Linked DNA regions of Homo sapiens: regions 2, 3, 4, 5 and 6 are each linked to region 1. The links are contacts of gene promoters, found by promoter capture Hi-C in human tissues and cell types (Jung and others, 2019). All regions are on one chromosome and are shown on one strand. The core of a region is centred on a gene start or on the middle of the fragment in contact, and the rest is flanking DNA. Distances in the headings are between cores, read along the strand shown. Region 1 holds the start of SYT1 (synaptotagmin 1). Region 2 overlaps SYT1 (synaptotagmin 1). Region 3 overlaps SYT1 (synaptotagmin 1). Region 4 has its middle 180 kb from the start of SYT1. Region 5 has its middle 160 kb from the start of SYT1. Region 6 overlaps SYT1 (synaptotagmin 1).

Region 1 (5,177 bases), core at 2,678-5,177:
GTACATGAATAGCCCCTAGTTTCAGCAAATTATAGTCTACTGTCCATGAGTTTCTAAACCTTTTTGAAAAATTTAGATAATTTCGGAATATATATACACACAAATATATGCATATGTATATACACACACATATCCTTAAATTCTAGCTGAAATTATTATGTATATTGCCATATACTTTGTCTCTTTTTAAATGGCTTTGGTCAATTTCAGTGAAAAAATTTCAGCTAAAATCAGCCACGTCATGTATTGAACTTTTGGTACAGATATATTTATGATAAATAAATTATTTAAGAATTTTAAAATATCACAACTACATCAGATATTTACTTTTTAAAAATATTATATTTTCTGCAGAATGCATGCAAGACGCATACCTACATTACACAATGGCAGAAAGTCTAACTTTGGTATGGGTTTTTGGTAATATTAGACAAAGATTTGTTCCATTATATAATCAAACTGTTTTTATTTCTTGTTCCCCCCAAATTACTTAATTATTACCATTAGGAAAATAAATATTATGTTTCAATTTGGAATTAGTGATAGCTCTTCTTGGTTGTTGCACAAACTGGAAATCATAAGAACTATATTTCAGGCTCGTATAATTGTCTGCATTAAGTGTGTGTTCTTTAAGATTAGATGGCTCTAACTGTTTTGGGAATTTTCTCAAAATCAACTTAATATACTGACATCAAAAGTGATGAACTGATATTATGTTAATGGTGTTATTAGGCTAACAGGAAGTTCAAATTAACTTTCAGATTTCTAACATATTCTACATTTTATTTTATTAATCTTCCAGCTCATCTTGCATATAATTAATACAAGCATATAATTAATACTATTTTTTAGTTTCAATTTCAGTCTAATATGCAAATCGTATAAATACAATGTTATTCATTTTCATATTTGTTGATTAGAACTATCTGATAATTTGACCAGATGAAATAACTAATATTCTCCATTATGAAATGAAGTTCAAAACTACTCAGCAACAACTCTCAATCATGTGGTATTTTTGTGAAATTAGTATTTTAGGATTTTCCCTATATATTAGCAGTCTTCAATTCTGACAAAAATACCTCGAGGCATAATTATCATATTTACTCTGAAACATTAATGAGATTTACTAAAATATCCTGTCAAAGGGAGAAAAAACAAAGATTGTATGAAATTGTGACATTAGACTATTTTGTGGGATAACAAAGTAAGAATTTCCTATAATATATCATGTAAGGTCTCTCCCCAATCCACTCACTATATATTGGAATTAGTTCTGATTTCCAATACACAGATATTGAATTTTTTAGAAGTATTTGAAAAACTACTCATATCCATATTTTTAGATGTTATTTCTATAATTAACATTTGTAAAGAGTCATGAAAATAAATGTCACAAACCAAGCCTAAATTTTCACATATTCCTAAGACAGTGGAGAAATGAGAAAACAAAATCTTAATTTTCTCACATGAAGGCAGCTGGCTTCCTTTTTGTACATCTTTTCATGTCTAAACTTGTTAATTCAGTTGTACATACATGTGAGGTAATTAAGTGATTGTCCCTTTGTCCTTGTAACCAAAAGGTGGCACCTCTAAAAACCAGAGTTAGCTTTCAACAGAGACACTATTTTTTTTTTTTTTTCATTTAAATGTCAAAGCCCTAGAAAGAAAATCGTTTTTCGTGACTTGGTAATTCTATTTAGGGAGAGATCATTGCCTCAAATGCAAAATGGTTTGGAAAATAGTACACATTACACTGATGGCAAATGAATTCAGCTCTTCTCTAAGTTGGTGTGTAAACTTATATATTAAACGTACGTAGTGAAAAAATACTCTCTGAGATACAAAATTAGTGTGGAAGGTCAGACACAGTTAAGATAGAAGATTCTCTTTTCTTATATCAAGTGGAGTTCTAGACAAAAAAAAGTAAGACTCTGCATTTCCCCTGATAAATAAAAAGAAGTGTTTTGTATACTAACATCTGTGGATTTCTCTGTGTTCAGGTAAGACCCACTTGGAATGCTTTCCTATTACATCAAACGAGGCATTTCTCTATACCTCCTTCCATCTGACAGTACTATCGCTTAGCTGTCCCTGAAGAATAATAAGAAAAGAAAGCTTATATCCCCAATGATGGAATTAGAGACTGCTGAAGCTGCTGTAAAGGCTCTGTCCAACAAGTACCATTTACTTGACCTATTATGCAGGCAGCCAGGGGCATGTTGGTGTTTTGATATATTTTTCTTTCTTTTAACAAGACGTTACAAAAATGTTTTCCCCTTCAGGATTTTTAAAATTTAGGGTATCTTTCTAGCATTACTTTCTAAACTTAGTTCCAGTACAGGAGGATTCTTGTCCAACTGAGCCTCCATGTGCCTTCTAAAGGGAGTGCTGAAATTGTATAAACATCATGTTTACATCCATTAAATATTGTCCTATTAAAAGAAAATAAAGCCAGGCATAAGTTTGGTATCCAGACAATAAAATGCAAATAGTACAAAGGTAGAATAAAGTGAAAATTCTACACAAATGTAGCTTCCATACAAAAGTTAAACAGTTGCTTTATTTCACGAAAGGGTTAATACTGGAGAAAGTGAATATCAACATGTACACAAAGCTAACTAGAAGATTAGCTTTCTCAAAGTAGAAATCCAAGCCTCCCTATAAAATTGTTGTCCCTTGCAAATGTTTTGAAACTTTACATTTTTTGATCCCCCAACAACAGGCCATACCAAGAAACCTCAGGAAAGTAATAATCTATTTTAATTGTTTTTTTTTTTTTGTTACTCAAGAAAGCTTTCAAAGTTCAGATATTAACACTGATGTGCAATACCAAATTGTTAGCCCCACAGGACAGATGGAAACAGGAAAAGTCAGATGGTTGGCACTCAAAAGCAAAAGCAATTAAGCAGTTGAAAGTGGGTTGGATTGTCGGTTTATTTTTGTTCCATTTGAACGAATCAAGTGAGAGACATAGACTCTTGCAAGGAGGAAATCAAGTCAAACTTGACGCTTCCTCTCTCTGACAGCCCAAGCTGGACTGGTTGTCTACTCCCCTTATTCAGTTTAATTGCTTTATGTGCTCTGATTTTCGCAGAGCTTGTATTCTATCTTGTTTACGTTCCCCCCCCCCCCCATATCCCTCTCCCCAACAGAAAGAAATCTTTCTCCTTTCTTCACTCCCCCTCTTTCCTCTAAGAAAGGCAATCCTCTCCAGGAGGAGAAAGAAACGCTGTGCGTGCTTAGGGTGGGAGGAGGGCGAGAGGGGAGGTGTGGGAGAGAAAGAGAGAAAAGATTGAGATTGGGGGTGGGGGACGGAGGAGAGAGAACAAGAGAAGGAAAGAGGAAGCAAGAAGATGGGGGATGCCCAACATCAACTCCAGGCTCTAAATCACGGGCGCTGTGCAAAGTGCTTTTCCAGGAGATGCACATGTAGTCTCATATTTCTCACAATAGGCCACCCGGGGATCCCTCCCTAGGTCTCAGACTCCCACCACTAAAACCCAAGTGTATCGAGAAGAAAATCTTTGGGATGGATTCGAGCAGATAGGCACCGCCGAGGTGGCCGCGCCGCCAGTCCCGCTTCCTTACCTGGAGGGCGGACCGGGAGGTGGTGCCGGGTCTCGGTCCCCAGTGCTCTCCCCGCGTGGACCGGCGCGAGGCACACGCGTACTCTCGCTGCCTCCGCTCTTGGAGGGGCAGCCTGCAACACAAAAGGGGTGTGTGGGTGTGGGTGTGTGGGAGGTTTTCCAGGGCCACCAGCTGGTCCCACGTGGTCGCCCCCACCCTACACACACCCCTTCGGGGCGCCAAGCCCCCCTCTCGGCTGAGCACCACCCTGGGGACTTGCCCGGGGTGCAGCCTCAAGTTGCCGCTGCTAACTGCTGCTGCCGCTGCCGCTGCTGCAGGAGGAGGTGGAAAGACACTGGGGGCAGTACTCGGTCTAGAGCATCCCCACACTGCAGCTTCTCCAGGAATCCCTCCAGTGAGGAGGCGGCCGCCCATCATCTCCGAGCCCCAGCATCCTGATTGGCTCCACCTCGGGTACGCTGCGCCAAGGAGCCAATCCCCGCGCACTAATAATAGGTGGATCCGTTCAGCCAACATCGCCCATCCCAGTTCTGTTAGTGTCTCTCCATCCCCACAGCGGACAGGGACCTGGGAAGCGGGGTGGAGGCGGGTTGGGGGAGGGGGTGAAGTAAGAGGGGAACAGATCCCAAGGAGACACAATCAAGGGCGTCTGATAAAACCTCTAGGTAGACTCAGGAATGCCCCACAAGCTGTTCAGCAAGCAGTATGCACAGGAGAAAGAGAGCATAATACAAAGCTTTTTTTTTTTTTTTTTTACTCTCAATCAAAACCTACCCTGATACTGAGCATGCCCAGACTGCAACAGCGACCTAGGAGTTTCGATGTGTGTGGGTTCGCCAGCTGTGGGTTTTTGAAAAGCTGGGACCGGGGACAGGAGAGGTAGAAGTTTGTCTTTGGCCATTTAACCCGGCGGAGTTGTGAAAGCTGGGTAGGGTGGGGATGTGAAAGGGTTCCGCACAAGTGTCCTCAAACTGAGCCGCGGGGAGGTGGCCCACCTGGCTGCCGGAGGCTCATCATGCTGTTCTTCTGGGGTTCCGGGTTGGAAGCGGGGGCGGGATAAGCTGAGCTTTGCTGGAAGCCTGGGGACTTCCCGCGAAGGGTGCGGTGGAGCCGAGATGCGGGAGAAGCAGCTCCGTCCCATAGGTGGGGCCGGGAGCGCGACTCCACCCATCAGCGGCGGCTGCCAGGCCGTGGAGAGTGCACTGGGAGTTTCCATTGCAGCGACCAATAAGTTTGTACACTTGGGTCAAGTGCAACATTGTTGGAGATGCTTTTTTATTTTTTCATTTTTATTTTTTGCCACCTCCCTCCCCCATCTCTCTCGACCCCTTGCCAGAGCAGTGACGACTAAAGCATAGATTCTCTCCCTGCTTCCTCTCTTCCCAGCTGAACCGTTCTGCTCGGAAGTAAGAAGCTTTTCTCTTGTGAGGGCGGTGGTGACCTGATTGTCTCTAAGCTCTCAGGCAATTTATAGCTTGGTAATACCGAAATACCGAACAGGAAGGCTCAGCGGGTGGGGGAAGGGACCGCGCGCCAGGCTAGGGGCGGGAGCGGAGCCCAGCTGGGAGAGGGGCCCGTCCATTATC
Region 2 (5,177 bases), core at 1,371-3,870, 250 kb before region 1:
TGTTTTAGAGGATACTTTGCATAAGTTACATCATTGAAGTCCAGTTTTACTGAAAATGTGTTAGTTTTGATAACTTATATACTAAGAGTGTGAAACATTGACTGCTAAATAGAAATTCAAGAAAGATAAAAATCCTTGAAGCTGTTTTAAGCAGCTCTCCCTCTCAAATTTTGCATTTTTATATATTTTTTTTAAATTTTAACTTTGATTTTAGATACAGTAGGTACGGGTGCAGATTTGTTACATGGGAATATTACACCTAGGTAGTGAGCCTAGTGCCCAATAGGTAGTTTTTCAATCCATGCCTCCCTTTCTCTCTCCCCCTTCTAGTAGTCCACAGTGTCTTATTGTTCCCATGTTTATATCAATTTGTATTTTTATAACTGATATATAAATTAATTGCTCTGTCCTCTTGAATTGATTGGGTTCTCATCGCCGCATACGAACATTCTGACTTGGGTAAATATATATATATTTTTTCCTAAGCACAGGCCCATTTCTTTGTGTGGTGCTATTGCCCACAAGCAGCAGAACAGATAGGGAGCCAGGGAGCTGAATTCCTTGCTTCTGGGAGGCCTTCGCATGCAAATGTTAAGCTTGATTGGCTCCCTCAGTCTCTTGGATCCTGTTGTTCCACAGCAGGTCTTTAGGAGGCAGCTGGGACCTTCACTACATCTGGCTATACTGGGGATTAAGAAAAGAGGAAGGGAGATGATATTTTTCCCATCTGTGCCTTGGAGAATGCCTAATTAGCTTCTGTCCTTACTCAAGGGGAGAATAAAGCTATTTAAGTAATTTAGCTTAGAAAAAAAAAACAACTTATGAATTAATTCAGGAAGTAAAGGAATCTTCCAAAATGATTTGAAATGTTCCTCTTTGTTTCAGTGAGTCCTGGGTTTCTTGAGTTCATTTACAAGAATATCTTTCTTGCTGTCACGTCAACTCTCTAGACATTTAGTTAACAAATTCCAAAATATAAGACCCTTACAAATTTTTGTAAGACTGGGTCAGAAAAGGATTTCTGGTGATAGTGACATTTACTGAATCTTAAAGGGTGAGGAGGAGTTAGATAGAAAAAGTGAAAGGGTAGATAAGAAGGACCTTCTCAGCTGAAGAAAAGTTATGACTAAAAAAAAAACACCTTATGTGAGAAAATATGTAAGGAGTTGTGTGTCTGGAGAAAAAAGTCAGGGGTCAAAAAACTGAAGAGCGGTAAAGTTTTATAGAAGAAAGCGTGAACCAGATCAAGGAGGGACTTGTTAGGAAGCTTGGCCTGTTTTCTCCAGGAAATGGAGAACCATTAAAGGTTTTTAAAAAGCAAAATGGCATACTTGCATTGTTTACTATTGACTTCTCCAGCAGTAGTATGGAGGACAAAGTTCAGGAGGCTAAAACTGAAGGCAGGAGGACCTGTTAAAAGTTCAGGCAGGATATGATGATAGACACAATAAGAAGTTAGTGAGAGTGGAGAGGACAGGCACAGATTCTCTAGTTGCTTTTGTACATTATAGAGGAGATAAAATTTGTAGGAATATATTAGGGGTAATGGAGAAGAAGAAAACGACCAGCCCTTTCCTACTTTGGCTGGATGGTACCAGCAACCACAGGAAACATAGAGAATAGGGAATTCAAAAGTGGGTAAGTGAAGGATTATATGTCTAGGGACAAGGAAGAGATGTTTAGTAGGCAGTTGGATATCTGGATCTGAAGTTGAGAAGAAAGGTAACAGTGGAAAATAATGGATTTGAGAGTAATCAGAGTATATAAGTAGCAATTGAAACCAAGTAAAGAGATGAGATCACCCAGGTAAATTATGTACCATAGAAAATTAGAGTGCTCAGGATAGGGAGCCTGTGGAACACAACATTTAAAGAGCTACCAGGGCACATTTGGTGAATTTCTTAACACCTGTAAAACTCAGATAATAACGACTTCATTTTGGCTTTGTGGAAACTAGAGGAGCTAACACATGTACAATGATTGACTAGATCAACACTGACATTCACTAAATGCTCCTTTTATTTCCTTTCTAATTTCTATACTAGTGCTGTTTGCTTTATTAAATGGTGGAGATGGTAAACTTGATTACTGTCATTTTAAACAACAAAAGCAGAAAAAGACAGTCTACCATTAGTTTTTACATCAAGATTAGCACAAGAAAATTGTATATAGACTTGAATGAAATGACTTATCTATCCAAATTACATGAAAAATTTGTTCTTAATGTTACACTTGAAAAATGTTTAACCTTATGATCATGCACAACCCAAACTTTGAAAAACCTAACCCAGTAGAGACTGCTGATTTCTTGAAACATCAGCTTCTATATTAAAATCATAGTTTTAGTGGAGTTCAATACATAACCAATAATTTTTAACCACACATGTTAAATGGCAAAATGATTCATTCTAATATGCTGTTCACAAGTACAAGGTAATGGGTTAAGTGATAATGTAGTTCAAGAAAAAAGGGTCTTGTCAAACAACAGGCTAGATCAGCTCTAAAAAGATCAAATTATTTGATGGAATCAGCAAACAGAGAAAATAAGAGACAAGAGCAGGGAGGTCAAAAGGACCAAGGGGTTCCTTTCTCGGCTCTGTGCTACAGATTTGCTAATCCACGTGTCTAGCTCAGTACAAATTTATTTGGTAAACATAGCTATTTTAAATTGATGATAGCCATTTGTGGAAAATTTCTGAACATTTAGGCTCTAACCCTGGAACTCTGCAAATTATGAGTTTTAAGGTGTTACCCTAAGAATTATATAATTTCATACAAAAGTATTTATGACACTGCATTTATGATATCTGGCTACCACCAACAGTGCCATAAATAATATGACCTAGCTCTTACATGTGTTAATGATTGGTTTGAAAATCTTCTGTATGCAACCTATTTATTTTATATATATATATATATATATATATATATATATATATATATATATATATATATGATGTAATACACACACACACACACACAGCCTGTCCTGTGATCTGTCCTGTGGTAGAGGCAGGTGAGCTGTCTGTAGCTCTGCACCCCATGGGCAGAAGCTGGGGTCTATCAGGCCTGAAACTGTGGCTGCAGCTAACAGGAGATTGAGCACACCCATGCTCACATGTGGAAGCTTTTTCCTTGATTTGAGTTTACTCTTGAAGAGTGATGGTGTGGAACTGCAGTCAGCAGTCATCCACTGTGGAGTTGGTTGCTCCTTCTGAAATTGAAATAAATTGGCTGAGGGAATGTACAGAACAGCAGTTGGCGAATTTAACACGGAGCATTGTGGGTCCGCATGGATAATGACTTCATTATATTAAAGCAGAGAAATGCAAAGTGAAAACCTGCTTAACAATATTGTATTTCTCAATACATATTGAGGCACCAAAAATGTAAACAGACCTTTTACATTTTAATTGTAGTAAAACTGAGTGAAGAAGGAATGTAATTAGCCTATAAATGATTTTATTGGGACCACCATCTCTCACTAATCTGTCTTTGTATATTGCTGGTAGATTAATCTCTCCAGTAACAGGACTTTCAAGAAGGAACGCCTACACTCAAGAATTTAACTTTAGTTCAGAAAAGAAAGGTGTTAAAATTTTGTACCATGGCTTCCTCATTAATTTTATTACCCAACAATCTCTACATCAGTGCTTCTCTATTTGGAGAGCTGCTCGTGGATTTCAGAGGAGCCCAGATAGAATCTTACTTGCCCTCCTCACTGGAGGGGGAGAGGAGCAACTTGCCTACTCAGGCCTTCAGAGGTGAAACTCAGGATTTTGGTGTAGGCTCTGAGATATGTAGCTGAATGGAAAATTCTCCTTGACCTCCCAGAGCTCACAATTTAGCAGAAAGTGACAGAATACAGCAAATAGTTATCCTATAATAAAGTGAGTATAGCATACTATGAGAATTCAATATAGGTAAGGGCTAAATTGTTGTCTGCTTAGGGAAGAATATGGGAAAGACTGCTCTTGTAAATGGCAGAGGGCAAGCCTGGTAAAAGTGAACAAAGCATTCACTTTGGACTTTGAAATCTGAAGTTTGAATCCTTAGTTCACCCACGTTGGGCATGTTATATTAATACCCTATGCTGTGAGTTCCTCACTTATGAAATAAGACACAAATAAGAGAGTGTTTTGCTTGATTTGTGTGGATCCTAAGTCAACACCTCACCAACACGTGCAGGAAATACTTTGCCTTCCTAATTTTCACCTATCTTTTCCTCCATTGAATATTGTGTACATCCCTGCCAGTGTAAAACCCCAAGCACTTCTCCTACTGAACACTAATACCAATCCTAAATGTCTTCGTTAGGCTTTTTGGGCCATCATCCTCTGGCACTCCCAATAGACATAGTAGTACTAAGAACAACAAAAATATCAGCCATAGTAACTACAAACATGGGCTGAGGGCCAGTTTTCTTTACCACCTATTATTTGTTTTCCATTAATTATCTCAACTAATCCTACTCTAACCTATGAGGCAACCATCATGATTCCCATTTTAATGACAAGGTACCTGAAATTTAGAGAAGACAAATGATAATTCCAAGGTCATCCAGCTAGTTAGTGACAGAACCAGGTATCAAACAAATATCTAAGTTCAAAGGTTGTATGCTATCTTGTTCACATCATTAGAATCTACTCTGTTTGCTCATTATAGCTTTCAGGGTGTGGGGAAGTGAGAAATTTTATGAGAACTTACTGCATATTTGATTGACAGGCTAATGTCTGAAAAATCCTGTAGAAATATTCAAAGCAACCCTAAACTGTGGAAGGGCATGCCCTGGAATGGAGCCTGGATGGCATGCTGAGCAATAAAGGAACAGTTGACTGTGTTAAAATTTTACAAAGGATATCTGGCATTGCCCTGATTCCCAACAAAAATTAGTAATTATAATTTAAAAAAATTACTTAATATTCTACAATATCAGTGGTGAAAGCTGTGCTTACTTTATGGTTTCTGTGGAAAGAACAAGATGTTTTTGTGCAGAGGCAAGGTTACCTCCTGCTCTTAAAACACTATTTTTGATATTTCACTTAAGGGGGTTAAAAATTTGTCTAGGTAGTGCTGTCTTTCAGATGAAAATGAAAATATTGTGGCAAATAAATGAAAGGTTTTTCCTAAGTTCATAAGGGTAAAATTTGTTGTTTATGTATTGCTCAGATGCCATT
Region 3 (5,177 bases), core at 1,179-3,678, 190 kb before region 1:
ATGGAAAACCAGCATGGAAGGAAGTCATGTAAGGCCAAGATGGAATGCCCTTTCCTTTGCAAAGCTTTTCAGGCACTGTTAAGCTATGTCTACCTGCTGGCATCCAAAGAACTTCTAATCTTCATACTATTATATTTTAATTAGTTAAAAATGCCCATCCATTCCAGTATAATATAAATTTTTCCAGGGTGGAGACTGTCCCATTCATTTTTGTGGCCCAGCACCATTCACAACATGTAGGGGAAGTGTGAGGTGACAGAGCAGCAGCCTTGTATCTAGAAGTCCTGTTCTCAAATGCCAACTCTGCCAGTTATTAACTGAGAAAGTCACTTAACCTTTCTGATCCTCTCCTTCCTCATTTGTAAAATGGTGATGATGTCTACTTTTCAGTGTGAGGATTAGAGGATAATGCTGTGTATTATAGGATATATAATATGTGTATATGAGCGTGTCTCTGGCATTGATAAATGCCAGCTAAAAAATTATTGGTTAGCACATAAGGAAAACTGCTGAAAATACTAAAAACTGTATAGATTATTTCCTTCTTATTGACTTAAGGTTCAGACACCAATTCTTGAACAAGAATATTCCATAATACGCTGATTAGAAGTTAAATGGTAGTAGTAGAAAACTTGATGGCTATAAATTTGCATTCTTATTTAGAATCAATGCTCCCTTCCCTATTATTCTATTTAATTTTAGAGAAATGGCAATTTTTAAATACCCTAACTTCACGAATCTTCTGAAGAACAGTCAATGTATCAAAACAGATAATCAAATGAAGACAGGCTAATTCCAGCCTGAGTAGTTAAAATGTGGCATATTTATAACTCATAAATCCTAAATTATCTTAAGCCCATCTATTTTTTTTTGCTGATTGCCTAAACTGAACTAGTTTTCCATGATTAATTTTAGGGCTTATGATATAAAAAGAGAGATGTTCTAAAAATCATGAACTCATTGCATTTCTATATTTGCATCTTATCTTTCCATCAAAGAATTGGCAAAAAGATTTCATTTTGGACAACTCCATTACTCAATAAATCATCAGATAAATGGATAAACAAAATGTGATATATACATACAATGGAATATTATTCAGCCTTAGGAAGAAAATTTTGACACATGCTACAATAAGGATAAACCTTGACAATATACAAAATAACCTAGTTACAAAAGGAAAAATACTGTTTAATTCCACTTATATGACGTAGTTAGAATAGTCAGTTTCATCAAGACTGAAGGTAAAATAGTGATGGCCAGGGGCTGCAGGGAGGGGGAATGGGGAGTTGCTGTTTAATATGTACGGAGTTTCACTTTGGGAAGATGAAAAAATTCTGAGGGTGGCTGATGCTGATGATCAAACAACAGTGTGAATGTACTTAATACCACTGAGCTGTATACTTTCAAATGGTTAAAATGGTAAATTTGATGTTATATATATTTTACCACAATTAAAAAAATGGCTAAAGATACAGCTCTTGAAAATAAAAGCTTTTTGTTACAGGGACGTAGGTTTTGTTTGGGGACGTGGATAACTTTTCTGAAAAAAAGTAAGGGAACAGAGAACTTTTAGTAAAGTTACTGCTATGATAGAGCTGGATAAACAAGTTGTCACTTTGGTTCAACCAGCATTGAGCACCTTCGCTGTGTCAGGTTCTGAGATAGGAGGATGCTCTGCCTACCACACTTGTGGAGCTCACTCTCTTATGCAAAGAGAAATTCATCAGATATTATTTCAGTGTAAGCCCATGAAACAGTTTGCATAATGTCTAGGAGCACAGGTTTTAGCATTACACAGACTTTAGTCTGCATCTGGCTCAAAATATATAAGCTAGTTATTTTGAGCAAGTTGGTTTGCCTTTCAGAATCTGTCTCCTCATTTATGAAATATAGATATGAAAATGCACTTCACAGGAATGAAATGACATGGGAAGCATGCAGCAGGGAGTAAGTGTTCAGTTACCAACATCCACTGTTTCCATAAGCCCTGAGGCAGAGGGATGGGCTATCTGGGGCTGTCTAACAGTAGCCTGGTATAACTGGTTACAAAGGTCTGGCCTGGCCTTACCAAGCCACTTTCATAATTGTTGATGCCAGCCCACAACAAGTACAGCATTTGTTTGATCATTGTGCATGGAGTTATTACTGAAAACATTTTAGTTATATTTATATCCAGAGTTATGATAAAAAAATTGAAAATTGAAAACTTGATTATTTTCTTGTTTTGGGTGGCCAGGTATAAGGAATGTTATAACTAACACAAATAACGATTTCTTTCATATAGAGGTAACTCTTAAAATTTACTTTATGAGTGGATGGTTTTACATTTGAGGTATTGAAAAGAATTAAAATTAAAATATAGGTAAACAATATTATATAATCATGTATTTTACATTTACTTTTACATTTTAGAAAAAATGAAGCAGTTATCTCTAGCTTATTACATCTTGATATGGTTTGGTTGTGTCCCCACCCAAATTTCATCTTGAATTGTAGCTCCCATAATTCCCACCTGTTGTGGGAGAGACCCAATGGGAGGTCATTGAATTATGGGGGCGTCTTTCCCATGCTGTTCTCGTGACAGTGAATAAGTCTCATGAGATCTGATGGTTTTATAAAAAGGAGTTCCTCTGCACGTGCTCCCTTGCCTGCTGCCATGTAAGATGTGCCTTTGACCCCCATTCACCTTCTGGCATGATTGTGAGGCCTCCCCAGCTATGTGGAACTGTGAGTCAATTAAACCTCTTTCCTTTATAAATTACCCAGTCTTGGGTATGTCTTTATTAGCAGTGTGAGAACAGACTAATACATACCTCATTAACAAATCTTCTATCACAAGCTTTGCAAGACCCACTGGGAAAATGTGTATGTATTAAAATAAAGAAACTATAGGCTCCTAAGTATAGTATTGAAGAAAATGTATCACTTCAAGAGCAGTGCAGGGGATGCTGCATTTAAGGCTGAATTCCCACCTATCCCAGTTCCTGTCTCCAAATATCTTCACCCATACTATCTATACATGTATCACTCCAGGACCCCACACTGCCAGAAATTCCTTAAGTTATTTGTTTATTTAAATTAACAATTGTGGTGTGGGGGTCGGGAAGTGAGAAGCAGAGGGGATGCAAGATGCAGGGCTGGTGTGGACACTTTGGCCCAATTATTTTTTCTTAGACATTTCCCCATACCAGCTGTACTGAGTCATTTTGATCAAGAGATAAGTTGGGTTAGAAAATTGGAAACCAAAACCACTTTAAAGAAAAGGCAGCTAGAGAATATCAGTTGGGAAACAGCATTACCTCAGGAAGAAAACAAAGGTGACAAAGAGAGAGAAGGCTGTGTGAAAAGCTGGCTTTAGTTATTTTTCACATATTGGGCAGGGTCAACTGAGTATCAGGAAAAATGGAGAAACATGTTTTTCCTTGTGTCCCTCTCACTCACACAGTCACCATAACCAATGCTAAAAATATTGTCATTTAGCATAAGCTGTGGGTTTTCACAGGTTTTTTTGTGTGGCCACTGTCGATAAATATCCATCTTATAAAATGGAAAGAAAACATCTTAAAAGGAATTTTGTTATATAACTCATTCATAAGTTGGGGACTGCTTGTATTGCTTCCATTCTTTTAGCTGTCTCATTTAATGACAAATCTGGCTTTGCCTTTCAAAAAAACACACTAATAATTGTTCACTTCTTAAAATGGGAACAATGGATATATCCATAAATATACAATTGTCCAAACCCATTTCTTTCTGGAATTATGTTACTAGGCATAATTCAAATAATTATTTTGTTGCATTCTGTAATAAAATGGTATTTATTATAAAGGTTGTGACATATGTAATGCTCATGAGCTTGTCCAACCTGCCTTATTTTGTTGTTGTTGTTTTTATTTTGTTTTGTTTCAGGCTTTTAGCAGCCTGAAGCCATAATTTTTGGTTTCTGTGTCTAATTGTAAGCAGGAAGGAGGGATGAGGAAGGGGTTTTACTGGCCCAACCAGAAACAGAAACTAAGAACCCATGACTGTACTCTCTCCCTTGGACACCCCTGCATGGTGAGTCTAAGACATAGAGGGTATTAAAAACATTTTTACCTTGTGCAAAATTAGAAAAAAAATTTTAAAGTACAAAAGAGAAAGAACATCTAAGACTAACCTTCACAGCTCAAATAGTAAATGCCTAAAAAAAATATATTACTTCCTAGGAGATGTTATAGCAAATTGTGTCAATGCCACATGCAAATATAAAATGGATAAGCAAAAATCCTGAGCAACTTGCAAAACTACTGCTAAGAATTATTTCTTATAATATATTTCAGACTATTGAAAAATTGTATAATATCATTTGGGGGGGGTCATATGAGTTAGAAACCAATGTATTTTGAGCTTTTGTTTAGAGACATTTTCCTTAGTCTGAAACATTTTGTACAAATTCATGAACATAGGCTTTGCCAGGATTCCTTTGAAAATGGAAAACAAAAACAATCACAGGATTAAGCAATTCATATTAACCATAAGAACAGAGGATATAGATTGCTCAAATGTACAATGGAGCATATGCTGAACCAGATTTTTCATCTTTCAGAATAGAAAAGAAATAAAATTGTCAGTATTTGTAATGATTCAATTCCAAGGAAAGGAGGAAAATGCTAAGATACTTATTATGAATTACTTTCTGCTGAAACAGGAATAGTTATTACTAAGACTGGGATATACTCATCTTTAGAGGCATAACAAGATTTTACATTGAAAGGAGAAGTGGTGTTAGGATTGATAGCCCATGTCAGACTGTAAAGGGATTTTTATGGTGTTTGCAAAAGAATGACTCAAACAACAAAACCACTTAAAATGGTGAATATGAAAATTTTCATTTGAAGATAATTAATTGAGGTTTTAAAATGAGGAGAAACAGTATTCTGTATCATGAGGGAAAAATGCAGCAAAATAAGCAACTTTGTCAACTGAGATTTCTTTGGTAAAAGAATAATGCTGTGATTTCAATTTCAGACATCACATACAAAATTTTATTATTTTTTAAAATGAGAGTTGCCATGTAATGGCATCATACTGCCCTTAACTTTAAAATGGTGCATGTAATAACAATGTGTGGGATGTAATTTATTTCTGGACATCTGTTCAGTCTAGAGTTTGGTTAGGTCTATTTTCTCTGGAGG
Region 4 (5,177 bases), core at 1,756-4,255, 180 kb after region 1:
TCCGCCTCCCAGGTTAAAGTGATTCTCCTGCCTCAGCCTCCTGAGTAGCTGGGATTACAGGCACCTGCCATCATGCCTGGCTAATTTTTGTACTTTTAGTAGAGACGGGGTTTTGCCATGTTGGCCAGGCTGGTCTCGAACTCCTGACCTCAGGTGATCTGCCCACCTCAGCCTCCCAAAGTGCTGGGATTACAGGCATGAGCTACCATGCCTAGCCAATTTATTCATTCTTAATAATTATGCTTGAGTAGCTTATTTTAAAAAGCTAGCTATCAACTCAAGTTATTTATTTGTTCATCGTTTCTACAGCCTGTAAAACCCTCAAGTTAAAATACATGGGTATTTTTGCTGGTAGAAGAGATGGCTGCTTTCCTTAAACCAACAAACTAGTTTTATTTACCAAATACTTACCAGTCATGTGAACTAAAAGACATTTGAATCAGTTCCTATTTTTCTGATAAAATACTTGATTCAAGCACTTTTTCTTAAAGCCGATTAATTAGAGTTCTTTCATATATTTTGGTAGTGAAATATTACATACATGACCAATATAAACATACAGACATAGGAACACAGACAGAAGCAAATCTTGTAGCTATATAAGATTCTTCATTTGTCAATTTTCAAATAATTTTCTTTCCTTCTTTAGATTATCAATTTATTGTTTACCTGTGCCATTACTCTAAAAAATTGTTAGCTAGGCAACCCTAAATTTTCATTTTCAAAGATGTGACTCAGGTGAAAATTAGCATTCCAAAGGCATAGAACTTAGATCTAAACACCATTGTTTGTGGAAACAGAAATAACCAGCCAAGACAAGATTGTGAGGAAAAGTAGCTTAAACTGAGGTAAGGTTTGGTATGTAAATTTAAAGCCAATGCCTTTCCCATTGTAAGTTTCTAACGGCTTGCTATGCATGATGGTTGATGCCTGTAATCCCAGCACTTTGAGAGGCCAAGGTGGGAGGATTGCTTGAGCCCAGGAGTTCAAGACCAGGCTGGGCAACATAGCAAGACCCTATCTCAAAAAAAAAAAAAAAATACAGACAAAAAAAAGTTTCTAATGGCTTGGGTGCAGGGAAATGCCATTACAAATGGAGATTTCCTTTACAGATGTGAATTTCTTTACAAAAAGTTTCAAAATAATCAGCTAAATACCTGAAAGTCATGTTTTGGAGACTGATCTAGTTGGATAGGTGATCTTTTCAACTTAGTTTGTTTCTTTATTAGATGACTGACATCAGAGTGGAGTGCTTTAATGAGTAGAGGAAGACATTTCTCTAAATGTTTAAGCAGTGTCTTTCTTATCTAAGTGCACAAAGATGTAGGTAGCCCCCCTGCAGTTACATCCATTCATTGCAACTGCTGTCAGCCATTTTAAAAAGTGCAACTTTCACAGGTAACTTGTCAGCCATTGCACACAAAAAAGTCAAGTTATCACTCACAATACAAAGTAATCCCTGCTACCACCCAAAACCAAGGAGATCAGGTAATATAGTGCAAAATAGAGCAGAGTTTTTTCAAAACAGAAGAAACTGCCCAGAACTCTTCAGACTTTACAAGGAAAACAGAAAACCCCACAAAGTAGGCAGGGTGAGTGGTGCTTTTTTCTATATTTTTCAAGGGATCTCAAAGTCATTAGTTGTCTCCTCTAAATTTCTTCATGTGGTATCATTATGGCAAAAGGAAGGAGGAGCAGAAGTGGAAGGAAATAGAAGAACAAATCTTAGAGAAACTAATTTTGGGAGATTTGAAGCTTTCTAAAGCATCAATACAGGCTGGGAATGGTGGCTCACACCTATAATCCCAGCACTTTGGGAGGCCAAGTGGGGGGTGGAGGATTAACTAAGGTCAGGAGTTTGAGACCAGCCTGGCCAACATGGTGAATGCCTGTTTGTACTAAAAATACAAAAATTAGCTGTGTATGGTGGCTCATGCCTGTAATCCCGACTAGTAGGGAGTTTGAGGTGGGAGAATTGCTTGAACCTGGGAGGTGGAGGTTACAGTGAGCTGAGATCGCACCATTGCACTCCAGCCTGGGCAACAAGAGCAAAACTCCATCTCAAAGACAAACAAAAAACATCAATTTAGTTTAACATTCTTCAGCAAAAATCATGCCAACAAGATAGTGTAACCGCCCAAGGGGTTCACCTTGCCCATTGCCGAGAGAGAAACGATTCATCCAGACAGAGGAACTGCAATAGGGAAAGAATAATTCAAGCAGAGCCAACTGTGTGGGAGACCAGAGTTTTATTATTACTCAAATCAGTCTCCCTGAGCATTCTGGGAGCAGAGTTTTTAAGGATAACTTGGTGGGTTGGGGAAGTCAGTGAGCCAGGAGTGCTGATTAGCCAGGGATGAAATCACAGGGAGTCAAAGCTGTCTTCTTGTGCTGAGTTAGTTCCTGGGTGGGGGCCACAAGATCAGATGAGGCAGTTTATTGATTTGGGTGGTGCCAGCTGATCCATCAAGTGCAGAGTCTGCAAAATATCTCAAGCACTGATCTTAGTAGCAGTTTAGGGATGGTCAGAATCACATAGCCTCCAGCTGCAGGGCTCCTAAACCATAATTTCTAATCTTGTGGCTAATGTTAGTCCTACAGAGGCAATCTAGTCCTGAGACAAGAAGGAGGTCTGCTTTGGGAAAGGGATGTTACTGTCTTTGTTCAAACTATAAACTAAATTTCTCCCAAAGTTAGTTCAGCCTATGCCCAGGAATGAACCAGGACAGCTTGGAGGTTAGAAGCAAGATGAAGTCGGTTAAGTTAGATGTCTTTCACTGTCTCAGTCATAATTTTGCAAAGGCGGTTTCAATAGTAAGCAAACAGAGGGGCAAAAAACATTTAAAAGGGGGTTTTAGTCAAAAGAAAAAATTCCCAGAAACAGGATCCAAAAGAGGAAAAGCAGAAAGAGATTAGAAGTAGAGCCGAAAATTAGCTTTCTCTTATCAGATTTTAGGCAGGACAAATATAAACTAGGTCTCTCATTCAGTTTGGTTCTAAAACCAGTTTTTCTAAATGTGTGTGCAAATAAAGTATTTCAGACATTTCAAAGAATCTATATTTTGAATACTGATTCTAATGACTATTCAGGGTTAGGTGGCTTCATTTTCCTAGATATTTACAAAAGGATGTCCCATAATGTTATACATGAATTCATCTGATTTTTTTTAAAGTGTTTAGATTTTGAAGTTTGATTTTCCATAATTCGGAAGCTTTTCAAAAGCGATTGAGGCCAGGAACGTATTTAGGGTTGAGGTGTGATGTATCTTGGACTGCCTCTAACTGCGAGATGGTAGCAGAGTGCTCAAGGTATCTCATATTATACTCATGCAGAAGAGCAAATGGGGGCACACTTTTCAGTTAGAAACTAAGAGGAGTTGGTCACAAATGAAAAGCTAAATCCAAAGTTTCAAGCAATAGAAAACAGCTGCAATCTTAAAAGCTTGCTATGTAAAATGAAACCACCGGTGCCTACTTGCCAAACCTTTGACCTAAACGTCTGCTGTGAGACAGAGGCAGAATAAAAGGTGGTTCTCTGCAGAGCTCTTTACCTGAAATCCTGTCTAAAGAAGAGACCAAAATTCTCACTTTTTTAAAAAAAGAGAGGGTTTGAAAGCAGCTCAAATACAGTCTAGATCTCCAGTCAAAGATTTGGAGGTCTGAATTCAGGAGAACTCACCTGAAATACCCAGTGAAATTTCTACGGATGAAGAGTTTGTGCTGTTCCAAGTGCCACTTTCAAGAGAAGTACCAGGCCAGGTGCGGTGGCTCACACCTGTAATCCCAGCACTTTGGGAGGCCAAGGCGGGCAGATCACCTGAGGTAAGGAGTTAGAGACCAACCTGGCCAGCATGTGAAACCCTGTCTCTACTAAAAATATATAATTAGCCAGGTGTGGTGGCACATGCCTGTAATCCCAGCTACTCAGGAGGCTGAGGCAGGAGACTTGCTTGAACCTGGGAAGCGGGGGTTGCAGTGAGCTGAAGATCAGTGCCACTGCACTCCAGCCTGGGTGACAAGAGTGAAACTCTGTCTGAAAAAAAAAAAAAAAGACAGAGAGAAGTACCAGGTGGTCAGAGGGAGTCACTCTGAGTCCTATCAGCTACATCAGATATGTCAACCTAAAAGGAAGATGCTGAGTCAAAAATTAACGTAAGTAGAGAGTTTACTTGGGCTAAGCTTGAGAATTAACAATTCAGAAGCATAGATTCTATTGCCCTGAATATAAGCTCTGATTAGCAGTGGTTATAAGTAAATTTTTGAAGGAAAAAAAGAGGCAGTTCCTGTGGTATTTACCAAAAATTTATATTAAAATAACATAAGCTATTGATTGACTATACATTGTTCACTGTATTATAAATTCTAGCAACATGAAGATAATGGGGCCATGGCGGGGGCAGGGGCAAGTTGACTGAAGTCTGAAGTCCCATACTCATGTGAATCTGCACCCTGCATATCTCGCATAGCCCAGGTTGCTCTGAGCTGTTTTCTCTACTTTTCTTTTTCTCATGCCCTTATAAAAGAGACTCCAGAGAGTGCCCTCCTCCCTTCCATCATGCTAGCTTGTAGTGAAAAGACAGCAGTCTAGGAAGCAGGTACTCCCCAGGCACCAGATCTGCTGGTACCTTCACCCTGGACTTTCCCAGTTTTTAGAACTGTGGTTTATAAATCACCCAGTTTATGGTATTTTGTTATAGCATCCTGAATGGACTAAGACAATTAATGGATTACTCAGTAGAAACTTATATTTGGTGGAAAGTAGAAATGGAGACATCTTACCATGGCTGAATTTATATACCTCCACAAGCCTTCTTCTTCCTCTTTCTTTAATATGCTATTTGATTAATCTGGATAACTAGTGTCCTCCATATGCCACTGTGACTCAACAAAGTGGGCAGTTGCCACCTCCAGTTCATGGAGGACTAAGTTAAGATTCGGGGATATTTAATAAACTGGTTAGGTTTTAAGGGGCAGAGCCAGGATTTGAAGTAAAGCCTTGTAAGTCCAAGCATTTTTCTACTACATCATGATACATCAATCCTACCTCTACCAACCTCTTTGTAAGAAGAGGAGTGCTAGGCTGGGTGCAGTGGCTCAGGCCTGCAATTCCAGCACTTTGGGAGGCTGAGGCAGGCAGATCACTAGAGGCCAGCAGTTTGCAATCAGCCTGGACAGCA
Region 5 (5,177 bases), core at 1,002-3,501, 160 kb after region 1:
TTCGTCCAGTCAAATTTTTCCAATCAAGTTTTTGCATTGAGAACATTAATTTCTTTCCCTTTTTCTCAGTGTTGTATTTGTACTCTTCAAATTTGTCTGGTATGCCATCGAAAAAACACTAATAGTATGTTTTTGCTCTTTTCAATATGTTTTTGAAATTATCAGTTTTATTAGTTGTAGTAGCTCCTTTTCCAATTGATAATTTATTTGATATTTTTATCTTATCTTTGATATCTTTAATATGCTGGACAGAGTAAGCCATCCTTTTCTAAAATTCAAAAAGCTGACTTATCTATGCTTTGCGTACAACTTTATCTTCTTTCATTATCTTGAAAAACGTTTGTATCAATTAAATACTGCAATTAATCTTGACTTCAGTATAGACACTTTCACTAAGGCCAATAATTGCTTCCAAACACTGTGCAGAAATTCTCTTTGACTTTCCTTCTTTCCATCGTATCACTCAATATCTTAAATTGGAATGCTCCGTGTTGTTGATGACTTTAACCTTTGTTCAATTGCTAAAGCTTATTCAGCTGCTTGGAGGAGTGGGCACTAAGGGAAAGGGCAGTATGCAGCCAACATTTTGCTGATTTTTCCTACAGGTTCATTGAACCCCATCTCCTACTGGCATTTCTGGTCAAATAGGTGTGAGGTGAGTATGGGAGCTCCATATCTAGGCTTCCAAAAATGAATACCAACCTTGTGAAAAGTTACATCCAATATGAATATCTGTGGCCCACAGAACGTTGCTATTGAATTTACACACAGGATATCTTTGTTGACCCCTAATGTTTCCACCTTTTTTTCCTTGTCTCTCCTCTGATCCGGCTATTGCTACAATCTGCTCCCTTTTCTCTTACATTAGGAATAAAAGTTATTTTGTATGGTCAAGAGGTTTCTTGCTCACTATCCATCCTGTTCTACAGAATGCAAATGTGTCCACAAACATTTCTCACTATTGATCTGCAGGTTAGAGAATTTAGTAGTGCTCTTCAGAATGTTATCATCCACCTTTTAAACTCTTTTTCATATTTAGTATTACAAGTAATATTTATTGCAATCACAGAATACTTCATTTATGTCTTCATTTTATATTTTCTAGCAGACTACTTTCAGAATGTTAAGTATGGACTTTACTGTGACAGTTTAGTTTCATTGTATATGTAGTTTAAATCCAATTCAAGGTTGTTTTTGTTCAGTCAAAGGGTTTGAGAGAGATTAATGCATTGTGCACTATGCCAACTTTCTTGGAAGTCTTCCCAAATTAGCATTAAAATCATATTCACATTTTCTCTCTGCAGCAAATAAAACATTTGGTCAATTCATATGAGGCTTGATTAGCACCCATTTGCCTAATCTCTTAATGATTTGACATGTTAGCCTCCTAACTGGTCTCTGTGCTTCAGCTCTTGTTCCTATCTTCAGTTTCTTTTCAGCAGAGCAGCCAGAATTATTCCGTTCAAATGAATGTCCAAATCATGCCACTCCTCTGCTCAAAATCCTTTAATAGCTTCTGTTTTACTCAGAATAAAATCTGAGGTTCATATTATGAATTGTAATGACCTTCATGGTCTGGGCCTTTCTTTTACTTCTCTAACCAAATCCCTTACACTTTCTGTCTAATTCACACCAGTTGAGCCACCCTGCTTCGTTGTCTTGAACAGACCCCCTAAACTCCCCTCAAGTCTTTTGCAATTGCCTTCTCCCAGCATAGCCTATTCAGATTGAGTCAACCAAGATTCTCAGAAAGGCTTTCTCGACCATTCTATCCAAATTTCACGTTATATTTCCTAGCATTCCTTTCCTCTTTTTTCTCCTATAGCACTTACTAACGTCAAATAGTCTATTTATTTTACATGTTTATCTTACTATTTTCCCCATGAGACTCTAAGTTCCATGTGGGCAAGGCATTTTTGTCTCCTTTGTTCACTACTGCATCCCCAGTGCCTAGAACAGTGGCTGGCTGTTACAGGCTCCATGTTGGGGACCGTTTAAATTTATGACTTGAATCTCTAACCTCCAATGTAATGGTATTAGAAAGTGGACCTTTGGAGATGTCATTAGGTTTCAATGAGCTCATAAGAATAGAATCTGCATGATGGGATTAGCACCCTCATAAGAAGAGGAAGAAACAACACAGATTTCTCTCTCAGCCACGTAAGGACACAGTGATAAGGCAATACCTGTGAGCCAGGAAGAGGGACCAAAACTTGACCATGTTGGTTCCTTGATTTCAGACTCCCTGCCTTCAGAACTGTGAGAAAGTAAGTATCTGCTGTTTAAGCCACCTAGTCTATGGCTCCTTTTTTAAATAGTGGCCCAAGCAGATTAAGACACTGCCTAATATTTAAATGAATACATTAATAAGTAAAGGTCTGGAAGGAAAAGACCTTGAAAACTTGGGTCCCTATGACCTCCTTTGCAAGCAGGACTCAGCTGTTACAGACCAATAGGATGCTCCATGTTATCTAATTTGGTGATTTAAAAAAAAAAAAAACAAAACCAGTGATGTGGAACTATAGATGACATGGTTCAATTGAACATTTATTACATAGAAACACTACAGTATATTAATTACAAATGTGGAATTTGGAGGCAGAATGTCTGCATTGAATTCTCACTCTGCTACTTACTATACCTTGTGCAAGTTAATTGTTCACATGTGTATCATCTGTAAAATGGGTATAACAATAATTGTAATACCTGTCTCAAATAATTGTTGTGAGGATTACATAGGTTCATATATTAGAGCATTTGGAAGAACTCTTGGCATATATTTAGTGGTCAATAAACATTAAATATTATTAGTCCACTGTTGTGAGGTTGTTTAGTTTCATTCTAGGATTCACAAATAAAAAGATATGCTTCCAAGCCAAATAGCTACCATTTTGCAGACCACTCTGGTTTACAGATGAACAAAACTTTTACAGAATACAAAGTTCACTCTTTAAATTTTACAGGCAATGAGCAATGCATTTTAACCTTAAATAATAAAAAAAACCTGTCAATTGTTGCTGATGCTTCTGAATCTCTCAAAGGTCACAGCCATCTAGAGATGAATCTGGTAATCTGAAAACTTTTGCACAGCACTTCCTTGGGTTAAGATACTAGGCCTACTTCTATCCTTTATAAGTCAAAACTACAAACACATAGTTATACAGTATTAGAATAAGAAGAGGTGTAGGAGATTATAGAGTCACATGATCAAATTTAAGTCCTAGTAGAGAGCTTTCACAATGAGTGTTCAATATGTAATACAACTCTTAGGGTTTAATATAATATCTATTATATCAAGAAGAAATAACTCACCATGGTACACTTTCTACTTGCTTAGACCAATATTAACATATTTTCAGCATAAGTAGACCATTAAAAATTAAATATATATAATCATACTCAAATGCCAGAGAATACTCAAACACTTGTTAGTAAGATGCCAACTGAATAAATATCAATTAAATGCATGTGCTTTACATAAACCCCACATAAATATACATGAACATAGTTTCATTTAACACATCATGAGTACATTGCACCCCTTTTAAAAATTAACTTTTTGCCTTTAGATGCAGAACAAAATCCCAAATAAAATTGAAAGTTGATATTATTGTGGCTGAAATGATGGAAAGAATAGCATGTGACTTTTATATTAGGAGTATTTGGTAAATCAAAATCACACTTTAAATGTCTATATCTTTATGCAATTGTGAGCAATTTAACATTGTCATTTCTCTGTGCTAACTAAAATTAACCATCTAAAGAAAGAGTATATAATTAAGTAAAGAGAAGGTATTTTAGGAGACTTTTTTATTTTTGCACTGATTACCCAGTGCTATCCCCAAGTCATGCAGTTAATCATGCAGAAACTATTCTGTTTCTTACCTATTTAAGAACTTTAATTGTCTCAGAATTTTATGCTCCTGATTTCTCACTTGCTTTCTTTCTCTGCTCATGAATTCCTATCTGCTTACAGATCTTGATATGCGTAGCATAGTCGTGCCTTTAACTAACACATTACTCATCTAAAAAGGAAATTGCTCTTACCCTTGGGAATGTTCAGCAAAAATACCTTTCATAGGGAAGCTTATTTCATTTTATTAGAATATCTGAATACTGAATAGTAAACAGCAGTCACTGAGTTATTTTTAAATGGCATCACTTAAATATTTTCAATCTTTTAAAGGACCTTGGGAATGCACGGCTGCTTTCCAGGTCAGAAATTTATTTATTTATTTTCTAATTAGATATAAACATTTGCTATATTACCCAAACTGGTATATTCAGTAGCATCACATTTTCAAATGTCTATGCAATGTTGCCAAGGCTAAAGTCAGTTGGTTATGTTCTTAAATTAGTCATGTATCAAGTAGGTGTAAGTATATTTTATATGTAGTAATAGCACTTATGCATGAATCTTGATTGAATCCCTGTTCCCAAGCATCAACTTCTTTCTAGATTAGCTGGGTGCATTGGGACTATTGAACCATTAGCTTTTATTGAAAAATAGATGAATATCAGTCCCTACAGAATAGTGTATTAGCTCTTGCCTTGTAGCAAAGCTTTTTCCTGGTTTCTCTTCACAATGGGACTTCTTTATGCTTTTCTCTAATGCAACCAGAAAGAAAGTGGCGGTCAGAAGAAGAAAATGAAATCTATTGAAATAAAATCATCCAGTGGGTATGGCTTTAGCTTCTCACAATAGGGTTATCTGACATGATTAATCCACAAAGATAAATGTGACCCTGGCGAGGCGCGGTGGCTCACGCCTGTAATCCCAGCACTTTGGGAGGCCGAGGCGGGCGGATTGCCTCAGCTCAGGAGTTCGCGACCAGCCTGGGCAACACGTTGAAATTCCATCTCCAGTGAAGTACAAAAATTAGCCAGGCGTGGTGGCTTGCGCTTTTAGTCCAAGCTACTTGGGAGGCTGAGGCAGGAGAATTGCCTGAACCTGGGAGGCGGAGGTTGCTGAGCAGAGATCGTGCCACTGCACTCCAGCCTGGGGGACAGAGCGAGACTCCGTCTCAAAAAAAAAAAAAAAAAAAAAAAAAAAGTGAACCTTTAGAGATCGCTGGCAATTTCTTTGAGTATTGAAGTGTACATGTTCTAAAATACAAGTAATAGCTGTCATTTATTGAAAAGACTAAAAAGAAAATTCACCTAAGAGAATTTAATAT
Region 6 (5,177 bases), core at 1,033-3,532, 150 kb before region 1:
TTCTAGATCCCTGAGGAATCGCCACACTGACTTCCACATGGTTGAACTAGTATACAGTCCCACCAACAGTGTAAAAGTGTTCCTATTTCTCCACATCCTCTCCAGCACCTGTTGTTTCCTGACTTTTTAATGATTGCCATTCTAACTGGTGTGAGATGGTATCTCATTGTGGTTTTGATTTGCATTTCTCTGATGGCCAGTGATGGTGAGCATTTTTTCATGTGATTTTGGCTGCATAAATGTCTTCTTTTGAGAATGCATTTTCAAAGAGAAGAAATATTTGCACTAAAATAGGCATGATATGGAATGGTTAAAGGGAAGAATTCTAAACATTATTCTAAATAGTATAAAGTATTTGAAAAGACTGGGAATCATATCTGAACATAGGTTTCAGGTTAAATTTCAGAAAAAATAAATTGTACTAACTATGAGACTTGTTACTGATGAAAATATTTGAACTGGTTTTTCATTAGAAGTTGTCAAAAATACCCAAGGCTTATTTTCTTTTCCTTTTTCTTTCTTTTTTTTTTTTTTCTTTTTTTTTTTTTTTTGGAGAGAGTCTCACTCTGTTGCCAGGCTGGAGTGCAGTGGCACAATCTCAGCTCACTGCAACCCTTGCCTCCTGGGTTCAAGCGATTCTCCTGCCTCATGATCCCGAGTACTGGGACTACAGGCGCCCACCACCATGCCCAGCTAATTTTTGTATTTTTAATAGAGACGGGGTTTCACCATGTTGGCCAGGAGGGTCTCAATCTCTTGATCTCATTATCTGCCCGCCTTGGCCTCCTAAAGTGCTGGGATTACAGGCGTGAGCCACGGCGTCCGGCCTGAAGGCTTATTTTCTAACAAAATGGACATAATGATAGAATCTTGGTCTTACATGAAGAAAACCTTCATAAGCTTACCCTTCTAATGTTTTCTCTTAGCCTTTACATTCTATAACTATCTAGAATAAAAGTGGCTTTATATAGTAAATGAAGAACCTATCTGATGTTTTTGCTTTGTTTTCTATAACTGGACTGGATTGGATATTTTTATTAAGACCTCCTAGGTGTTATAGAGGAAAAAACGCAGGAAATATAGTGAAATATGCTTCAGATGCTTGCAGAGAAGATGGGGAGATGAGTTAGTGAGAAAGGGCTACCGCTTATACAAATGGGTGCTCCAACAGCATCTACTTGTAAGAGAGTTGGCTAAAATTCAGTGTGCAAGTTGTAGTTACAGTTTATAAACAGTTAATCCCTCTTGGAGTTCCTGGTGCCCATTACTGGACTCAGTACATAGCAAATATTGAACAATTATTTGATGAACCCACTCAGTGAACTGAAATCATAGACCTGATGCTCTCAAAGTGTTTTAAACCCTCATTCACTTCTTCAACAAATACTTATGAAATACCTACTATGCTTAGGCAATATGGTAAACACACACACACACACCAACACACAATCCCTGCATTCAGTCTAGTTAAGGTGATATTAAGCAAATAAACTCATGAAAGAGAATACAAAAACAAACAGAGAAGTGCACTCTACAAGATAGAAATAGTGTTTAATAACTGACCTTGATGGGGAATCAAGGTAGGCTTCTTTGGTAAGTGACTCCTGAGCTCACATGTGAAAGACGAGTGTTAGCTAGGCTGGTGTGGAAGCAAGCAGAGGTGGCACAGACCTCCAGGTAGAAGGGACTGCATGGGAGGAGGGGCCTTGTAGTAGAAAGGAGCATGGCACAGTTAATGAAGCAAAGAAAGAGGGTGGATGCATCTGGAGGTGGGCTGGGGTACGTCCCAGAAAGCACAGCAAGCCACATTAAGGACATTACCTCATCATAAAGCATAATGAGAAACCACAGAAGGAAAATGCCATTCTGACTACAAAGCAGTGGCAGTCCGGAAAGAGGCACAGGGAGCAGCGACAGGGTGCACTCTCCTGTTTTCAGAAGCATTGAACACTTGTTTGTAGACAGCTGGCTGTTTTTGCCTACACACTTCACAAGGAACCAGGAAATATTATAATAAATTTTCCCTTCAGCTCTTTTTGAAAGGAAGAGCTATATAATGGTGACGTGACCACATAGATCCCAGAAGCACCACAATAACAAATAATAGAATTGGAAAAGTGATTCTCTCCTTACTTATTGAAATCTCTACATATACTTACATTTTTGTGAACAAAGAAGTGTTTGCCTTTTGTATACCAGAATAGTACCTGCTCAATTATGCTTGAGTAAGAGATGGTTTGTGCTATGTATGGTCAAAAAGTAAGATATCATCCAGGTGATTGGATCCAATCTGCCTCTAAAACTTAAATCAGTGTCTAGTCCACAGTTGTCTTCTGTAATAGATAATATGGTGGTGAAACTTCAGAGTTCTCAGTTACCATGTGTGGTCTGTCTACTCCTCAACCAGCACTGACTGTGCTGATTCCCAAAAATAGAGTCTGGACCTCTTACCGCTACAAATTCCAGGTTCTCAGGTACAGCCTGAGAGTATGCAGATATAATACACCACAGATGATTCTCTCCCTTTTTTTTTTTTTTTTTTGAGACAGAATCTCATTCTGTCACCCAGGCTGGAGTGCAGTGGGCTGATCTCGGCTCACTACTGCTCCCGCCTCCTGGATTCAAGCAATTCTCCTGCCTCAGCCTCCCGAGTAGCTGGGACTACAGGTGCACACCACCATGCCCATCCAATTTTTGTATTTTTAGTATAGTTGGGGTTTCACCATGTTGGCCAGGCTGGTCTTGAACTCCTGACCTAAGGTGATTCACCCGCCTCAGCCCCGCAAAGTGCTGGGATTACAGGCGTGAGCCACCATGCCAGGCCTAAAACACCCACAGATGGTTCTTAAGAAAACCTATGTTTATATTTTAGGCAAAGTTTCCTAATTATTCATATATATATGAAACACCCAGGGAGCTTATAAAATGCAGATTCCCAGGATCTACTCCCAGAAATTTTAATTCAGGAGGTTTAAAATGGTGATTGGTCACAGGTGTTTTTTTTTTTTTTTTTTTTACAAATCTCTGGAAAATGTTAAGAGCAAAATTGGCAGCTATTGTTTTAAAAATTCTTCCCTAGTTTATTTGAACTATTTCTAGCAAGATCTTTCAGAAAGCATATAGATTCCTGTGTTGTAAGTTCTTAGAGGTCAGGGACAGTTTTTTTCAACTTTCTCTCCTTAATATTATGATAGGATTAACTCTTATTTATTCTTAGGGTCTCTGATGAAATGTTATTTCCTTCTTGACTAGATGGAATGCCCTACTATAAATTTGCATATTTCTCTGTAATTTCCCAATCTGGTCACTCATCACACTTCCTTGTAATAAACTGATTAATTATCCTTCTTCTAAGCTGGTATGTAAACTTAAGGAGATATTGTTTATTGTATGCTCAAGAGAATCTTTAATATCTAGCAGAGTACCTAGCAATTAATAAATACTTATTGCATGAAAAAATATGCAGTAAATGTTAAATAAATGTTTCCATTACTTGAAGACTGTGGTCTCTTCCTTAACTTCCTCTTCACTAATGACATTATATTATTTCGAGTAAAGTTTCATATTATATTCTAATGCAACCTTTTAGCCATTATTTCTTTTAAGAAATAGAACGCAAATTCTGTAAGAACTTCTCAACAATGATTGGCATAATGACCTAAATCTGGCTATTTCTCACCATCTCTGCAGGTACAATTCTAGACCAAGACACCTCTGTCCTTCCTTCCCTTTGAGGGGAAATAAAATAGGTTTGGAAAACGACAACATTCTTATGGGAGCAAGATTGCTCAGGAATTAGGTAAATATAAAATGAAGGGTACAATTAGAGGATCTAGCTTTAGAAGAAAATTGTCTTCATAAAATGAATAATGAAAATACAGATAGAAAGGTGAAATGATTAGGATGACCTCTAGAAAAAATTTTGAACTTCCATAGGGATGACTTGAAAACTGATAGCAGGACAGGACTTTATGAGTCTGTAGTGAAGGAACAAAGGCATAATCAGTGAGAATCAAAAGATCAGAAGATCTGGGTGTTTTGGAGGCATTATAGGAGGAATTGAAATTTTAAATCAGGAATCCAGGTTTAATTTAAAAAATATAGTAGGGAATAGTGTAGTGGGCTTTATTTAATAAGTGAGGGGATAAAATATAGATACCTCCTCTCCCCACTTTCATATAAAGAGGTGCGGTCTTCATCAAGGGAGGCAGTAGGAAATACTACTACAAACAGCTTGGTCCCTGCTGTGAACACATAAGGAAACATTTTGAGAGGAGAATTTGTTCAGAATGAAGTGGAGGATTCCATAGTAGGCAACCAAAGTGAGAAAAGGGCATGTGATAGATACATGTGAGACATTCCCCACCTTTTATTTTCTGAGAGAAGCTGGAGACACCTCTTTACTCTAATCTTGAACTTCAACTTGGAAAAAAAATCATTCAATTTGTTTCTATCCAATTTTCATCTTGTCATGGTCTCTTTTCAATTCTAATTCTATTGATTTTTCAACCTCTCTCTCCATCATACTAGGAAGATATTGAAAGAACAGGATAAAGAAACATTAACCTACAGTAATAGTAATAACCTACAGTATTCATCTAGCAATAACAAGAAACCCATAAAACCTCCAGTACAAACCTCAGACTCACATAGCAGTATTCCATTCACAGACACTGAAAGGCAAGTAAGAAATGTTGGAAATATTATCAGAGCTCAGTATTGTGAATCTGGGAGAGAGAACAGTGACAGCAATGAGGGGAAAGTGCCATGAAACATAGAGGATGCCGTCTGTGCTAAGCTCAAAGTACCTGTGGAGAAAAGCACCAAATCTAGATTCAGAAACAAAAATAAAAGAAAGGAAACATAGGATGATAATGAAACAAATGGAATTGATATTGATGGGGAAACAAAGAAGAGATGCAAGTGAAAGCACATCAAATTTCAAAATGCTGAAAATCTAAACAGTTAAGAATGTGAGTTGTAGACTTTTATTCATTTCAGTTCTAGTTGAACAGCTAGATGATATTGGCACAATGTTTAACCTTTCTAAGCCTCAGTCTTTATCAGTAAAACGGGGATAATTATGTTACTTACTTCATAGGGTATTTCCATTGATTAAGTGAAATAAAACATACACGTGTTTATCATGGTACCAGGGAGCAAGTAAGAACTTAATA

Evidence for each region. The method cuts DNA at HindIII sites, captures the fragments that hold promoters and counts their contacts. A contact is called where the count stands out against the background at its distance.
Region 2: a contact is called between a fragment that was not itself captured here and the fragment with the promoter of SYT1 in region 1, in 1 of the 25 tissues and cell types used here (dorsolateral prefrontal cortex).
Region 3: a contact is called between a fragment that was not itself captured here and the fragment with the promoter of SYT1 in region 1, in 2 of the 25 tissues and cell types used here (dorsolateral prefrontal cortex and hippocampus).
Region 4: a fragment that was not itself captured here is called in contact with the fragment with the promoter of SYT1 in region 1 in 3 of the 25 tissues and cell types used here (mesendoderm cells, spleen and thymus).
Region 5: a fragment that was not itself captured here is called in contact with the fragment with the promoter of SYT1 in region 1 in 4 of the 25 tissues and cell types used here (IMR-90 fibroblasts, heart left ventricle, lymphoblastoid cells and 1 more).
Region 6: a fragment that was not itself captured here is called in contact with the fragment with the promoter of SYT1 in region 1 in 1 of the 25 tissues and cell types used here (mesenchymal stem cells).

What each region holds. Positions count from the first base shown.
Region 1 is chr12:78,863,524-78,868,700 of GRCh38, reverse strand. SYT1 (synaptotagmin 1) reads right to left here and starts at 3,927. Exons shown (of 11, transcript NM_005639.3): 1 at 3,592-3,927. RefSeq lists a silencer at 5,084-5,143. The HindIII fragment of the contact is 3,235 bases long and covers 3,563-5,177 here.
Region 2 is chr12:79,115,441-79,120,617 of GRCh38, reverse strand. The region is part of intron 3 of SYT1 (synaptotagmin 1); the gene reads right to left. Among named protein-coding and RNA genes, the nearest start is that of SYT1, 250 kb to the right of the region's middle. The HindIII fragment of the contact is 3,375 bases long and covers 933-4,307 here.
Region 3 is chr12:79,056,584-79,061,760 of GRCh38, reverse strand. All of the region lies in intron 3 of SYT1 (synaptotagmin 1), which reads right to left. All of the region lies in intron 3 of LOC105369863 (a long non-coding RNA gene), which reads left to right. Among named protein-coding and RNA genes, the nearest start is that of SYT1, 190 kb to the right of the region's middle. The HindIII fragment of the contact is 3,298 bases long and covers 780-4,077 here.
Region 4 is chr12:78,686,195-78,691,371 of GRCh38, reverse strand. No RefSeq gene overlaps it. Among named protein-coding and RNA genes, the nearest start is that of SYT1, 180 kb to the left of the region's middle. The HindIII fragment of the contact is 4,391 bases long and covers 810-5,177 here.
Region 5 is chr12:78,703,176-78,708,352 of GRCh38, reverse strand. No RefSeq gene overlaps it. Among named protein-coding and RNA genes, the nearest start is that of SYT1, 160 kb to the left of the region's middle. The HindIII fragment of the contact is 4,147 bases long and covers 178-4,324 here.
Region 6 is chr12:79,009,497-79,014,673 of GRCh38, reverse strand. All of the region lies in intron 2 of SYT1 (synaptotagmin 1), which reads right to left. The region is part of intron 4 of LOC105369863 (a long non-coding RNA gene); the gene reads left to right. Among named protein-coding and RNA genes, the nearest start is that of SYT1, 150 kb to the right of the region's middle. The HindIII fragment of the contact is 4,299 bases long and covers 133-4,431 here.